Regions from separate parts of the Homo sapiens genome. Here all the other regions are linked to region 3. Evidence: promoter capture Hi-C in 16 types of primary human blood cells and fetal thymus (Javierre and others, 2016). All regions are on one chromosome and are shown on one strand. Each heading gives the region's core, a stretch centred on a gene start or on the middle of the fragment in contact. The rest is flanking DNA. Distances are from core to core; before and after follow the strand shown.

Region 1 (2,761 bases), core at 32-2,531, 140 kb after region 3:
ATACCTGAGTGATTAACTCCTTGTGGACAAGGTCCTGGCCTTTTATTCAGTCCAGATCTTTCCAAAAGTATGGACTACCCCGAAGGCATATTTGGAGTCAGTGTAAATAGTCCCTTTCCCAGTTATGGCTTGATTTAATGTGAACAATTCACATGTTTGGGTGGACCAGTTATTGGGCAGTCTTCCTGACTTTACCTCTGTGAGGGCTTCCCCATTGACTACCGAGTACCCATTGTGTCTTTTCTCTTCAAATACCTGGGAGGAGCCATCTATAAACAGGTGTTGCCCCGTTTTGAATGGGGTCTCGCTTAGATCAAGCCTGACTTTAGTTTGATAACAGATTAGATCCAGACATTTATGTTCAGGGTCCTGGGGATTGGATTTCCCATTAGGAAAGCGGCAGGGTTGAGTGTTTTTTCTGTGGTTAGGGTTAAATCATCTTTTTCTAGTAAGATAGCTTCATATTTTAAGATTCTTGAATCGGTAAGCCATCTGCCTGCTTTTTGGTTTAGGATGGTTCTAACCTGATGGGTTGTGTTTACAGTGAGGTTTCCCCCAAAGGTTATCTTCCTGCTTTCCTCTGTAAATAGGGCAGTTGCTGCAACAGATTAAATACACTCGGGCCACCTGTGGGTTAGTGGGTCAAGAATTTTTGACAGAAAGGCTATAGGCTGCCGGTGGCCCCCGTGTGTTTGGGTGAGCACCCCTAGAGCTATCCCTTTATTCACATTGACGAAGAGGTGGAATGGCTGTTCTAGGGAAGGTAGAACTAAGGCAGTTATGAGCAGGTGTTTTAATTCCTCTACTTGTTGGACCTCCCGTGGTGTCCAAAGAAGAGGATCAGGTCTCTCTTGAGTAAGTTTCAGGCATAGAGGCTTTGTTTTTAAAGCATAAAGTCAATCCATAAGCGACAATATCCAGTCAACCCCCAGAATTTCCTAAGCCCTTATTTTGTTTCAGGCAAAGGTACGGCTATGATTCCTTCAGTTCGTTTGGGGCCTAATCTCTGTTTGCCTTTGCTTATTAAGTATCCTAGGTATTTTATCTCAGGTTCCACAAACGAGTTTACTCCTTGAGACCAGCAATCCGCGTTCCCTCAGAAAATTTAGAAAGTTAATTGATACTGCTGTTACCCAGCCCTTGGTGCCTCCTGAAATTAGCAGGTCATCCACATATTGGAGCGGATATATGGATGAGGGGAGGGGAAAATTCTCTAGGACTTGTTCTAGAATTTGACCAAATAGATTTGGGGAGTCCACAAACTCTTGGGGCAGGACTGTCCATCAGTACTGTTGCTTCCAACTGGAGTGAGGGTCCTCCCATTTGAAAGCAAACATGTCCTGGCTGTCCTCTGCTAAGGGGCAAGCCCAAAAGGCATCTTTTAGGTCTATTACCATGAACCATTGGTGGTCATATGGGATTTTGCTGATAATGGTATAAGGGTTGGGGACCACAGGGTGAGTAGTCTGGACTATTTGGTTAATAGCCCAGATATCTTGCACTAGCCGTGATCCATGTGACTTTTTTACAGGCAACATTAGAGTGTTATAAGGAGGCATACAGGGTTCAAGGAGTCTGTCATGGATGAGACCTTTGATTATAGGTTTTAAACCCATTCTGCCTTCTAGGGGAATGGGGTGTTGTTTTCTTTTTACTATTTCCCCAGGAGGTTTTCGTTTTATATGAATTGGCGGAACTTGAATCTTCCTTGATTTCCCTCCTTTAACCACACATCAGGGTGGATTTGGCTTTCTTTAGGGGCGGTAAGCAAGTTTAAGGAAGTAAATAATTTTCCCTGATTAACATATAGACCTATCCCCAATTTAAACATTAAGTCCCTTCCTAACGAATTTGTCCCTGCATCAGGGATTAACATGAATTTAATGGCGGCTGATCTATTCTTGAATTTAACTTCTGTTTCCTCCAAAATTTTTGTTCTAAACCTTTCCCCCTTTACCACCGTGACGAACAGCTCCTCTGCAGAGCAGGCTACATTTGATGAAAGGTAGCAAACAGAGGAGCGAGCTACTCCTGAATCTATTAGGAAAGTGAAAATTTCTAGCTTGGGTCCCACCTGTAGATTTATCAAGGGCTATTGGTGGGATTTGAGATAAAAGAGACAGAGCCTCTGAACCCCCTATTCTTCTTCAAAAGTCATGAGTGGGAGGATTTCTCTCTCTTTCTCATTCGGGACATTCTGTCTTAAAGTGTCCCAGTTTCCCACATCTGAAACATTTATTTTCCCCCTTTTCCCTTCTTGCCGTTAGGTCCCCAGGTTTTATCCCTTTTCTTTCCTGTATGTGACTTTGCAGCTAGTGGCTTAGAACATTTATGGGACCTATTTCCTTGTGTCCCTTGTTGAAGGGTGGGCAGTGGAATTTTTGCTTTTTGTTTCTGCTTTCCTTGTCTTTTCTCATATATACCTTTTGGGCCTCCTTTAGAAGTTCTTCTATGGAGCTATCTTTCCAATTCTCTATTTTTTTGACAATTTTTTTGTAATTTCTGGCCAAATGTTGGTGACAAAGTGGAGTTTTAACAATCCTTGCCGAAGTGGATCTTCTTATTTCTAAGCCTGCGTATTTTCTAACTTGCTCTTAGAGTCTGTTTAAAAATTCCATGAGCTCTTCTTCCTTTCTTTGTTGTATGTTGAATGCTCGGGAAATATTTTGAGTTCAGGGTACTGGTTCCCGAATTCCTTTAATTATCATTTCCCCGAGATCCCTCATATTTTCTTGGTGAGCTGCATTGTGATTGTCCCATT
Region 2 (3,198 bases), core at 570-3,069, 160 kb after region 3:
GTAATAATTACATTGCTTGTATTAGAAATATATCTCCTGGCCAGGTGTGGTGGCTCATGCCTGTAATCCCAGCACTTTGGGAGGCTGAGGTGGGTGGATTGTCTGAGGCCAGGAGTTTGAGACCAGTGTGTCCTACACTGTGAAACCCCATCTCTACTAAAAATACAAAAAATTAGCCAGACGTGGTGGCACACGCCTTTAGTCCCAGCTAGTCAAGAGGCTGAGGCAGGAGAATCACTTCAACACAGAAGGCAGAGGTTGCATTGAGCCAACATTGTGCCACTGCGCTCCAGTGTGGGTGACAGAGTGACACTTCATCTCAAAAAAAAAAAAAAAAGATTTTTAAAGATGCACTTTGCCTCAGAAGATTTAAGCTATTTTTCTCAGAGTTTTGGATATCTTTGACTCTTATTTTCCATCTTGTCAAACATTCCTATGATCTAATAAAACTACCTGTTCTGTTTCTTTGTTAACTTTATCATTCTGATACATGCTGTTTATCTAGATCTTTCCTACTTTCCTTTCCCGAAAATCTACTCTTTCTGTTTTCCATCAGCTTTAATTTTCTTTTCTTTTCTGAAGTCTTGCTCTGTCACCCAGGCTGGAGTGCAATGGCATGATCTCAGCTCACTGCAACTTCTGCCTCCCAGGTTCAAGCAATACTGCCTCAGCCTCACAAGTAGCTGGGATTATAGGCATGCGCCACCATGCCTGGCTAATTTTGTATTTTTAGTAGAGATGGGGTTTCTCCATGTTGGTCAGGCTGGTCTCGAACTCCTGACCTCAAGTGATCCACCCGCCTCAGCCTCCCAAAGTGCTGGGATTACAGGTGTGAGCCACCACTCCCGGCATTTTTAATTTTTACAGAAGTAGTTTGTAATAAACTATCTAAACACATCAGTTATGTAATAAACCCCACATCATTATAGCCAAATTTTTGATGTACCAAAATCCTCAAGGTTCTCTGGCTTTTATTTTATTGCTGTGTTTAATTTGAAAACAAGTAAAAATGACTCATTTTAAATGAATATTTCTTCTCTAAATCCTTACGTTTCTTTTTCTGCTTAACTTTAGAATGGGAAATACAACCTAGAACCAAACGGTCATCACTTCAGCAGGGTTTTTTGAAGAATCAAATATTCAGTGGGATACAAATGGTAAGATTCATGAGGGATATTTCTTAATTTCCTCTCTTAGAAAAGATAGAGAATTCCATTCTAGAAAATCAGCTCAGTCAGAGGTGTGGCTTACATCTGTAATCCCAGCTATTTGGGAGGCTGAAGTGGGGGTCTCATTTGAGCCCAAGAGTTCAAGACCAGCCTAGGCAGTATAGTAAGATCCCATCTCTGATTTTAAAAAGAAGGTGAATGTGGTGACTCACACCTGTAATCCCAACATTTTGGGAGGCCGAGATGGGTGGATCACTTGAGGTCAGGAGTTTGAGACCAGGCTGGCCGACATGGTGAAACTCCATCTCTACTAAGAATACAAAATTAGCCGAGTGTGGTGGTGGGCACCTGTCATACCAGTTACTTGGGAGGCTGAGACAGGAGAATGGCATGAACACAGAGGCAGAGGTTGCAATGAGCTGAGATTGCACCACTGCATTCCAGCCTGGTTGACCGAGTGAGACTCTGTCTCAGAAATAAAGAAAAGAAACTGAGTCTGTAATCCCATCCCTTTGGGAGGCCTAGGCACGTGGATCACTTGAGATTAGCACTTCGAGACCAGCCTGGCCAATGTAATGAAACTCTTATCTCTACTAAAAATACAAAGTTAGCCAGGTGTGGTGGCAGGCACCTGTAATCCCAGATACATGGGAGGCTGAGGCAGAATTGCTTAAACCCAGGAGGTGGAGTTTGCAGTGAAAAAGAAACTGCACAAATGAGAGATACTTGAGAGAATTAGAGAAGAATTCTGCACCACTGAGGGAGCAGGATCTCTGGAGAGATAGTCTGAATGTGATGAATTTTATGATATTCCATATCTGTATAACTTGTCACCTCAAAATACCCACAAGTACACATTCCCACATAAGTAACTAGACATTGAGGATTTACACAGTTTCATGAAAATCTACACTATTTGACTGGGTGCAATGGCTGACACCTGTAATCCCAGCACTTTGGGAAGCTGAGGCAGGAGAATCACTTGAGCCTAGGAGTTCAAGACCAGCCTGGTCAACAGAGACCCTGTCTCTACAAGGAATAAAAAATTAGCAGGGCGTGTTGGCATGCACCTGTAATCCAAGCTCCTTGGGGGACTGAGGCAGGATGATGGCTTCAGCCTGGGAGATTAAGGCCACAGTGAGCTGTGATTATGCCATGGTACCCAGCCTGGGTGACAGAGTGAGACCTTGTCTCAAACCACCCTGCATAATAATAAAAAAACCCTACAGTTTTCTTTTTTTGAACAATTAGAGCCAGTGGCGTAGAATTCTGGCAAAAGGGCCCATCATTCAATCTGGAAGAAATCAAGAAGTCAGGGAATAAAAACAAGGAAGAAAAATTGTAAAAATTATAATTATCAAAGTAGGCTGACATGGTAGCTCATGGCTGTAATCCCAGCACTTTGGGAGGCTGAGGCAGTGGGGTTTTGTGAAGAGTTTGAGATCAGCCTAGGCTACATAGTAAGACTTTGTCTCTATAAAAATAAATTGAGGCTGGGTGTGGTGGCTCACGCCTGTAATCCCAGCAATTTGGGAGGTTGAGGCAGGCAGATCATGAGGTCAGCAGTTCAAGACCAGCCTGGCGAACATGGGGAAACCCCATCTCTACAAAAAATAACAAAATTAGCTGGATGTGGCTACACCTGCCTGTAATCCCAGCTATTCGCGAGGCTGATGCATGAGAATCACTTGAGCCTAGGAGGTGGAGGTTGCAGTGAGCCAAGATCTCGCCACTTGCACTCCAGCCAAAGTGAGACTACATCTCAAAAATAAATAAACTGAGGTGGGGCATGGTGGCTCACCCCTGTAATCTCAGCACTTTGGGAGGCCAAGGCAGGCAGATCATCTGAGGTCAGGGGTTCAAAACCAGCCTGGCCAACATGGTGAAACCCTGTCTCTACTAAAACTACAAAAATTAGCCAGGCATGGTGACCCATGCCTGTAATCCCAGCTACTCAGGAGGCTGAGGCAGGAGAATCACTTGAACCTGGGAGGCAGAGTTTGCAACGAGCCGAAATCATGCCATTGCA
Region 3 (3,195 bases), core at 664-3,163:
GGTGATCCGCCTGCCTCGGCCTCCCAAAATGCTGGGATTACAGGTGTGAGCCACTGCACCCAGCTATTCTTATTTTTATTGACAAAAGTGTTTAGGAATATGAATGTTCCTTTGACCACTGCTTAAAATGCGTCTTGTATTATCCAAAAAAGCCAAAAAAAAAAAAAAAAGAGAAAACCCAATATCCAACAACTGATGTTATGATACAGCCATACAATGGAATCTTATTTAGTAAAAAAAAATTAAGTACTGATACATGCTAATTGGATGAACCTTGAAAACATTGAATGAAACAAGCCAAACACCACGTGTTTTATATTCTAATTCTACAGGCAATATCTACAGTAGGCAATCTATACAGACAGAAAGATTAGCTGTTGCTTTGGACTCTGGGGGTGGGGGTGGGGCTGGATGAGCAGATTGGGTGATCATGGCTAGGGTACTGGGTTTATTTTTGTGGTCATGAAAATGTTCTAAAATTGATTGTGATGATCGATGCACAAATATATGAATATACAAAAAGCCACGAAACTGTACACTTTAAACAGGTTAATTGTATGCTATGATAATTGTATCACAACAAAACTAAAGGCCTAAAGAAGGAACTGAATGTATCAGAGGCACAGAGCATTTTATGGATTAACAGGTTAATCTTTTTTTTTTTTTTTTTGAGACGGAGTCTCACTCTGTCGCCCAGGCTGGAGTACTGTGGCATCGTATCAGCTCACTGCAACCTCAGTCTCCTAGGTTCAAGCAATTCTCCTGCCTCAGCCTCTCGAGTAGCTGGGATTACAGGCGCCCACCACCACACCCGGCTATTTTTTAAAAAATATTTTTAGTAGAGATGGGGTTTCGGCATGTTGGCCAGGCTGGTCTCGAACTCCTGAACTCACGTGTTCCACCCGCCTCGGCTTCCCAAAGTGCTGGGATTACAGGCGTGAGCCACTGCCCCCAGCCCCATCAGGTTAATCTTTCAAACAGGGTGTCGCTGGTCTCGAACTCCTGGGCTCAAGCGATTCTCCCGCAGTAGCTAGGACTACAGCGGGATTATCTTTGTAAATATGTTTATATCCCTGCAGAGGGTTGAAGAAACAAGGAGAAAATCCTGCAGAAAAGAATTTCCCTAGGGTGGTGGCTCACGCCTATAATCCCAGCACTTTGGGAGGCCAAGGTGGAAGGATCACTGGAGCCCAGGAGTTCCAGATCAGCCTGGGTAACAAAGAGAGACCCTGTCTCTACAAAAAAATAAAAATAAAATAAAAATAAATTAGCCAGGCGTGGTGGCACACACCTGTGGTCCAAGCTGCTTGGGAGGCCGAGGGGGGAGGATCCTTTAGGCTCAGGAGTTCGAGACCAGCCTAGGGAACACAGTGAGACCCAAGTGTCTAGAAAAAGATAACTTAGCTGGGCGTGATGGGCCCAACTGTGGTCCAAGCTACTCCGGAGGCCGAGGCGGGAGGATAGCTTCAGCGCAGGAATTCCAGGCTGCAATGATCTATGACCGAGCCACTGCACTCCAGCCTAGGCGACAGACCGGAGCCTTATCTCAAAAAACTAAAAAGAGAAATTAAAAAAGAAAAGAAAAGCACTCGATGAGCATCCCGCTGTCTGCAATCGAAGCCTTAGGTGACGCCTCCACGCGTGCCCCGCCCGCTGCGCCAGTCCCCGCCTCCAACCCGGCCCTTGGCGCTGGGTTTCCTGGTCCGGCGTCGTTCCCAATATCGACAGATTGATCTGGATCCTGGTCCACCTGGGATGCGAGAAAACGGGACTTTTCTGTACGCGTGTCGAAGAGGTGGCCCCAGCTCTTCTCTCAGCTTCACATCATCCTCATTCCAAAGCTCTTGGGGCTCGGCCCCTACACTTAATGCCGTGCGCAACCGGAAGCGGAAGTGCCAGCCGGCGCGCAGCTATACGTATTCCCCGCTCTCCAGCAGCTTCCTAGCTGGGTTTTCACCTCAGCCAGCGCTCATGCTCAACCTAGGCAGGGCGGGGCAGGAGGGCCTAGCGGGAGGCGGAGCGAGGGTCGGAGGGTGACGCTCCGGACTTCTGCTAGGTCTGAGACGCGCCGGCCTCCCGCTGCTGCTCCGGAGAAGCGGCGCCTCCTCCCCGCCAGGACCCCGAGGCGGGGGGTTCCCGCCTTCTCTTCTGAGCGCCTCTTCCCGCTGCGCCCGCATCAGTCTGGGCCTGGCCCAGGGTCCCCGGTGGAGACGTGTTTTTTTCTCCAACCACCGTGCCCCTCTGTTTAAAAGCAGCCAGTCAACCTTTGTGTCCTTTCTCCAGAAGGAAAAGCATCTCAGCTGTTGTGGAAAAGGGCCCCAGCGTCCTCTTGTCACCGACAGGGCGATTGCAGTGCGTTCCGGTGAGCCCTGGACGGAGGAGATGATCTGGCTGTGGGAGGGCATCGCTTATTGAAGTTTGCGAAATTGCTCAGCAGTTAAATGCTTTGTCAAGTGTGCAGGAGTTGTAGGTTTATAGAAATAAAAGCAAATATTGCCACAGTTATAAAGCAAAGTAGCAATACTCCGCTGTGTTTTTGAGATCAAAAGCAGCTGAACTTCCTAGGTCAGTACCTCCCAAAGAGCTTCAAAACGGAGGGGCTTCCAGGAAGTAGGATGCCGCCTTCATTATACCAGTATCAGAAATTACAGTTGTATTAACTGTGAAAGAGACATGTTTTGATTCAGCGTTTTTCCTCTCGTATATATACATATTTTGAGACGGAGTTTCGCTCTTATTGCCCAGGCTGGAGTGCAATGGCGTGATATAGGCTCACTGTAAACTCTGTCTCCCGGTCCAAGCGATTCTCCTGCCTCAGCATGCTGAGTAACTGGGATTACAGGCATGTGCCACCACGCCCGGCTAATTTTGCATTTTTAGTAGAGACGGGGTTTCACCATGTTGGTTGGGCTGGTCTCGAACTCCTGACCTCGTGATCCACCCTCCTCGGACTCCCAAAGTGCTGGAATTACAGGTATAAGCCACCGCGCCTGGCCTTCCCCCTCATATATTTTTATTTATTTATTTACGTTTTAAAGACAGGGTCTTGGTTTGTTGCCCAGGCTATCTGTAGATTGAATATTCTAAACCAAAGAAAATGTGAAAGGCCAGAATATTGAACACCTATTATATATCCTTGTTGTAGACTGATCATTTGTTAATATTTTGCATGTTTTCTGTTTCTTTGCATCTCTT
Region 4 (2,802 bases), core at 134-2,633, 230 kb after region 3:
CCACAGATAAAATGTGTCTCCTTTGTCTCTACTGGAGAGGAAAAAGAACTGGAATTGGAAGGACAGAGAGATGGAAGGGTAGTGAGAGAGGCTGGAGAAGAGAGTGAAGAGACTGCTTACCCAATTTGAAATTGGTGAGATGTTCCTTGGGCTAGTCTGAGGACCCGAGGTAGTAGGTGGAGCTCCTCACGGAGTGAGGGTGAGGACGGGGCCAGTCTCCCAAGGGAGTCCCCCTGTCCCAGGTTTCGGAACCAAATGTTACACACATCCATGTGAAGAGACCACCAATAGGCTTTGTGTTAGCAACAAGGCTGTTTATTCACTTGGGTGCAAGTGGGCTGAGTCCGAGAAAGGGGTCAGCAAAGGGAGATAGGGGTGGGGCAGTTTTATAGGATTTGGGTAGGTAGTGGAAAGTTAAAGGTGGTTATCTTTTGCTGGCAGGGCCGGGGGTCACAAGGTGCTCGGTGGGGAACTCCTGAGACTCGTCCAGAAGAAGAATGTCACAAGGTCAAGAGATCAGTTGGGGTGGGGCAGCAACAAATCACAATGGTGGAACGTCATCAGTTAAGGCAGGAACTGGCTGTTTCACTTCTTTTGTGGTTCTTCAGTTGCTCCAGGCCATCTGGATGTATACGTGCAGGTGACAGGGTTTATGATGATTTAACTTGGGCTCAGAGGCCTGACAAGTAGTTCAAGACCAGCCTGGCCAGCATGGCAAAACCCTGCCTCTACTAAAAATACAAAAATTAGCAGGGTGTGGCAGCATGCACCTGTAATTCCAGCTACTTGGGAGGATGAGGCAGGAGAATCGCTTGAACCTGGGAGGTGGAGGTTGCAGTGAGCTGAGATGGCTCCACTGAACTCCAGCCTTGGTGACAGAGTGAGATTTTGTCTCAAAAAAAAAGAAAAGATGTTTTAAAGCAAGGCAGAAAACCTAGAAATTATTTTTAAAAACAATTCTTTTAGCTGCATAGAAAATGTTTTTTACATCAAATGTTGAAATAGTAACAGAGCAAAAGACGTAGTTACCTATTTTCTACATGCATAACACATTGGCTCCTTCCCCTATGGCCGCCCTGCTGCGGCCTCGCCCACAGGCCTGGCTATAACTTCAACCTTTTCCTCTGGGCCTGGACCCACATTCCTCCCCGCCCCCTGCCCGTAGCCCTGCCCACAGGCTTGGCTCTAACCTCGACCTTGCCTTCTGGACCCATTTCTGCCTGCAGCCCCCACGCTGAGCCCACCCCAAGGTCCTCCGCAGCCAAGCAGATGGAAAGTAGAATTTTTCTGCCTCGAGGAGGTATTACACGGCAGAAACCCTAGTCCCGAAACCCCGCCTGGCCCGAGGCGGAGAGCGTAAATGACGTCAGCGGTGCGCCGTTCCTTTTGTGACGCCGGCTGTGAGCGCCTGAGAGTCTTTTTGCCTTTCAGAGTTAAGGCCTCACTGGCCTGGGTGAGTTCCGAGGAGATGAACTGGTTTTGGGGTGAAGGACGGGTTTGGCCCGGACGTTAGAGAGGCCTGGCCCGCTCTGCTCGTGTCTGCTGGGCCCGCTAGCGTCCGCTCGGACCGTCGCTCCTCGGGAGGAGTCGGGTTTATAGTTACGGTGTCCGCAGGGTGTTTTCATCTGTGCGCCCCTCTCCAAAGGCCTCCAAAGCAGCGTTTGTGAATTTTTTTCCGGCAGGAAAATAATTGCTGCCTTTTGCATCCGCGTTGGCTCCGTCCCCAGGATCTTCCCGGTTCAGGGACCTGGCGATTTCTGAGTGTTCCGGTGAGCACTGGGTGAAAGTTGGTTCTAGGGGGCCTTTTCTGTCTTCTCTTATGCAAACGAATGTTTCATCTGTAAGTTTGGTTTCGTCTTATTGTGTTGTGTTTTATTTTTGACCATTACTTTCATGGCGAAAGATAAAGATGCTTTTTAGGTTTATAGGGTGTGCGTATTTGTGTATGTGAATATAAACGTTTGTAGACCGCAAGTCTTTCTGCTAAAGAATACTAAGAATAATAATTCATTATCTTCGAATGGAGTTCCTAGGCCTGTACATCCCAAGAGAGCTTCTTAATCAGACCTCCAGAGGGAAAGGATGAAGGCTTTATTATTCTAGTATCACAATAATCAAATTTACAATGAACAGGATGGTTGGATTAAGGAGTTTGAAACCAGCCTGGCTAAGATGGTGAAACCCCGTCTCTACTAAAAATAGAAAAAAAATTAGCCGAGCGTGGTGGTGGGGTCTTGGAATCTCAGCTATTTGGGAGACTAAGGCAGGAGAATCACTTGAACCCAGGAGGCGGACGTTGCAGTGAGCTGAGATCGTGCCACTGCACTCCAGCCTGGGAGACAGAGTGAGCCTCCGTCTCAAAAGAAAAAAAAGAGAAACGAAGGATGTGTGCATTTTAAGCTACATTGATTGTATATCAATGAAAAAAAAAAAAAGCTGGCTGGGTACAGTGGCTCACACCTGTGATCCCAGCACTTTGAGAGGCTGAGGCAGGAAGATCTCTTGAGCCCAGGAGTTTAAGACCAGCCTGGGCAACATAGCAAGACTCCATCTCTCCAAAAAAAAAAAAAAAAAAAGAGTTAAATATTCTATACAGATGCCACCAAACTGAATATTTGTGGGCCTAGTCAGCCCTAGGACCCCTAGTTTGAGACCCCTGGGAGTAGGTGTGATCTATACCAGGAGTCCAGAACTGTGGTTTTTGTGACTTTAGGGTTTTAGTCTTATTGGTAGAAGGAGGCCTATAGAGTTTTTGTGAATTTGGTTCATGGATAATGAACTGCGGAACTTTCACTGTTTATC

The links. Contacts are between HindIII fragments. The CHiCAGO score rates a contact against its expected background, and 5 or more counts as called.
Region 1: a contact is called between a fragment that was not itself captured here and the fragment with the promoter of ZNF846 in region 3, in 16 of 17 cell types (non-activated CD4 T cells, fetal thymus, megakaryocytes and 13 more). The highest score is 9.9, in non-activated CD4 T cells.
Region 2: a contact is called between a fragment that was not itself captured here and the fragment with the promoter of ZNF846 in region 3, in 1 of 17 cell types (naive CD4 T cells). The highest score is 5.0, in naive CD4 T cells.
Region 4: a contact is called between the fragment with the promoter of ZNF426 here and the fragment with the promoter of ZNF846 in region 3, in 5 of 17 cell types (naive CD8 T cells, total B cells, total CD4 T cells and 2 more). The highest score is 9.3, in naive CD8 T cells.

Annotation. Positions count from the first base shown.
Region 1 is chr19:9,628,399-9,631,159 of GRCh38, reverse strand. All of the region lies in intron 2 of ZNF561-AS1 (ZNF561 antisense RNA 1), which reads right to left. Among named protein-coding and RNA genes, the nearest start is that of ZNF561-AS1, 8.3 kb to the right of the region's middle. The HindIII fragment of the contact is 4,891 bases long and covers 1-2,761 here.
Region 2 is chr19:9,611,980-9,615,177 of GRCh38, reverse strand. ZNF561 (zinc finger protein 561) reads left to right here. Exons shown (of 6, transcript NM_152289.3): 5 at 1,075-1,157. Among named protein-coding and RNA genes, the nearest start is that of ZNF561, 7.7 kb to the left of the region's middle. The HindIII fragment of the contact is 9,023 bases long and covers 1-3,198 here.
Region 3 is chr19:9,767,456-9,770,650 of GRCh38, reverse strand. ZNF846 (zinc finger protein 846) reads left to right here and starts at 1,913. Exons shown (of 6, transcript NM_001077624.3): 1 at 1,913-2,362. RefSeq lists enhancers at 1,629-1,848, 1,120-1,985 and a silencer at 1,929-2,098. The HindIII fragment of the contact is 9,482 bases long and covers 1-3,195 here.
Region 4 is chr19:9,537,226-9,540,027 of GRCh38, reverse strand. It overlaps ZNF426 (zinc finger protein 426), which reads left to right and starts at 1,383. Exons shown (of 8, transcript NM_024106.3): 1 at 1,383-1,453; 2 at 1,683-1,769. ZNF426-DT (ZNF426 divergent transcript) reads right to left here and starts at 1,362. Exons shown (of 2, transcript NR_134921.1): 1 at 1,030-1,362; 2 at 298-622. RefSeq lists enhancers at 1-361, 1,016-1,085, 1,286-1,335, 1,342-2,077. The HindIII fragment of the contact is 12,585 bases long and covers 1-2,802 here.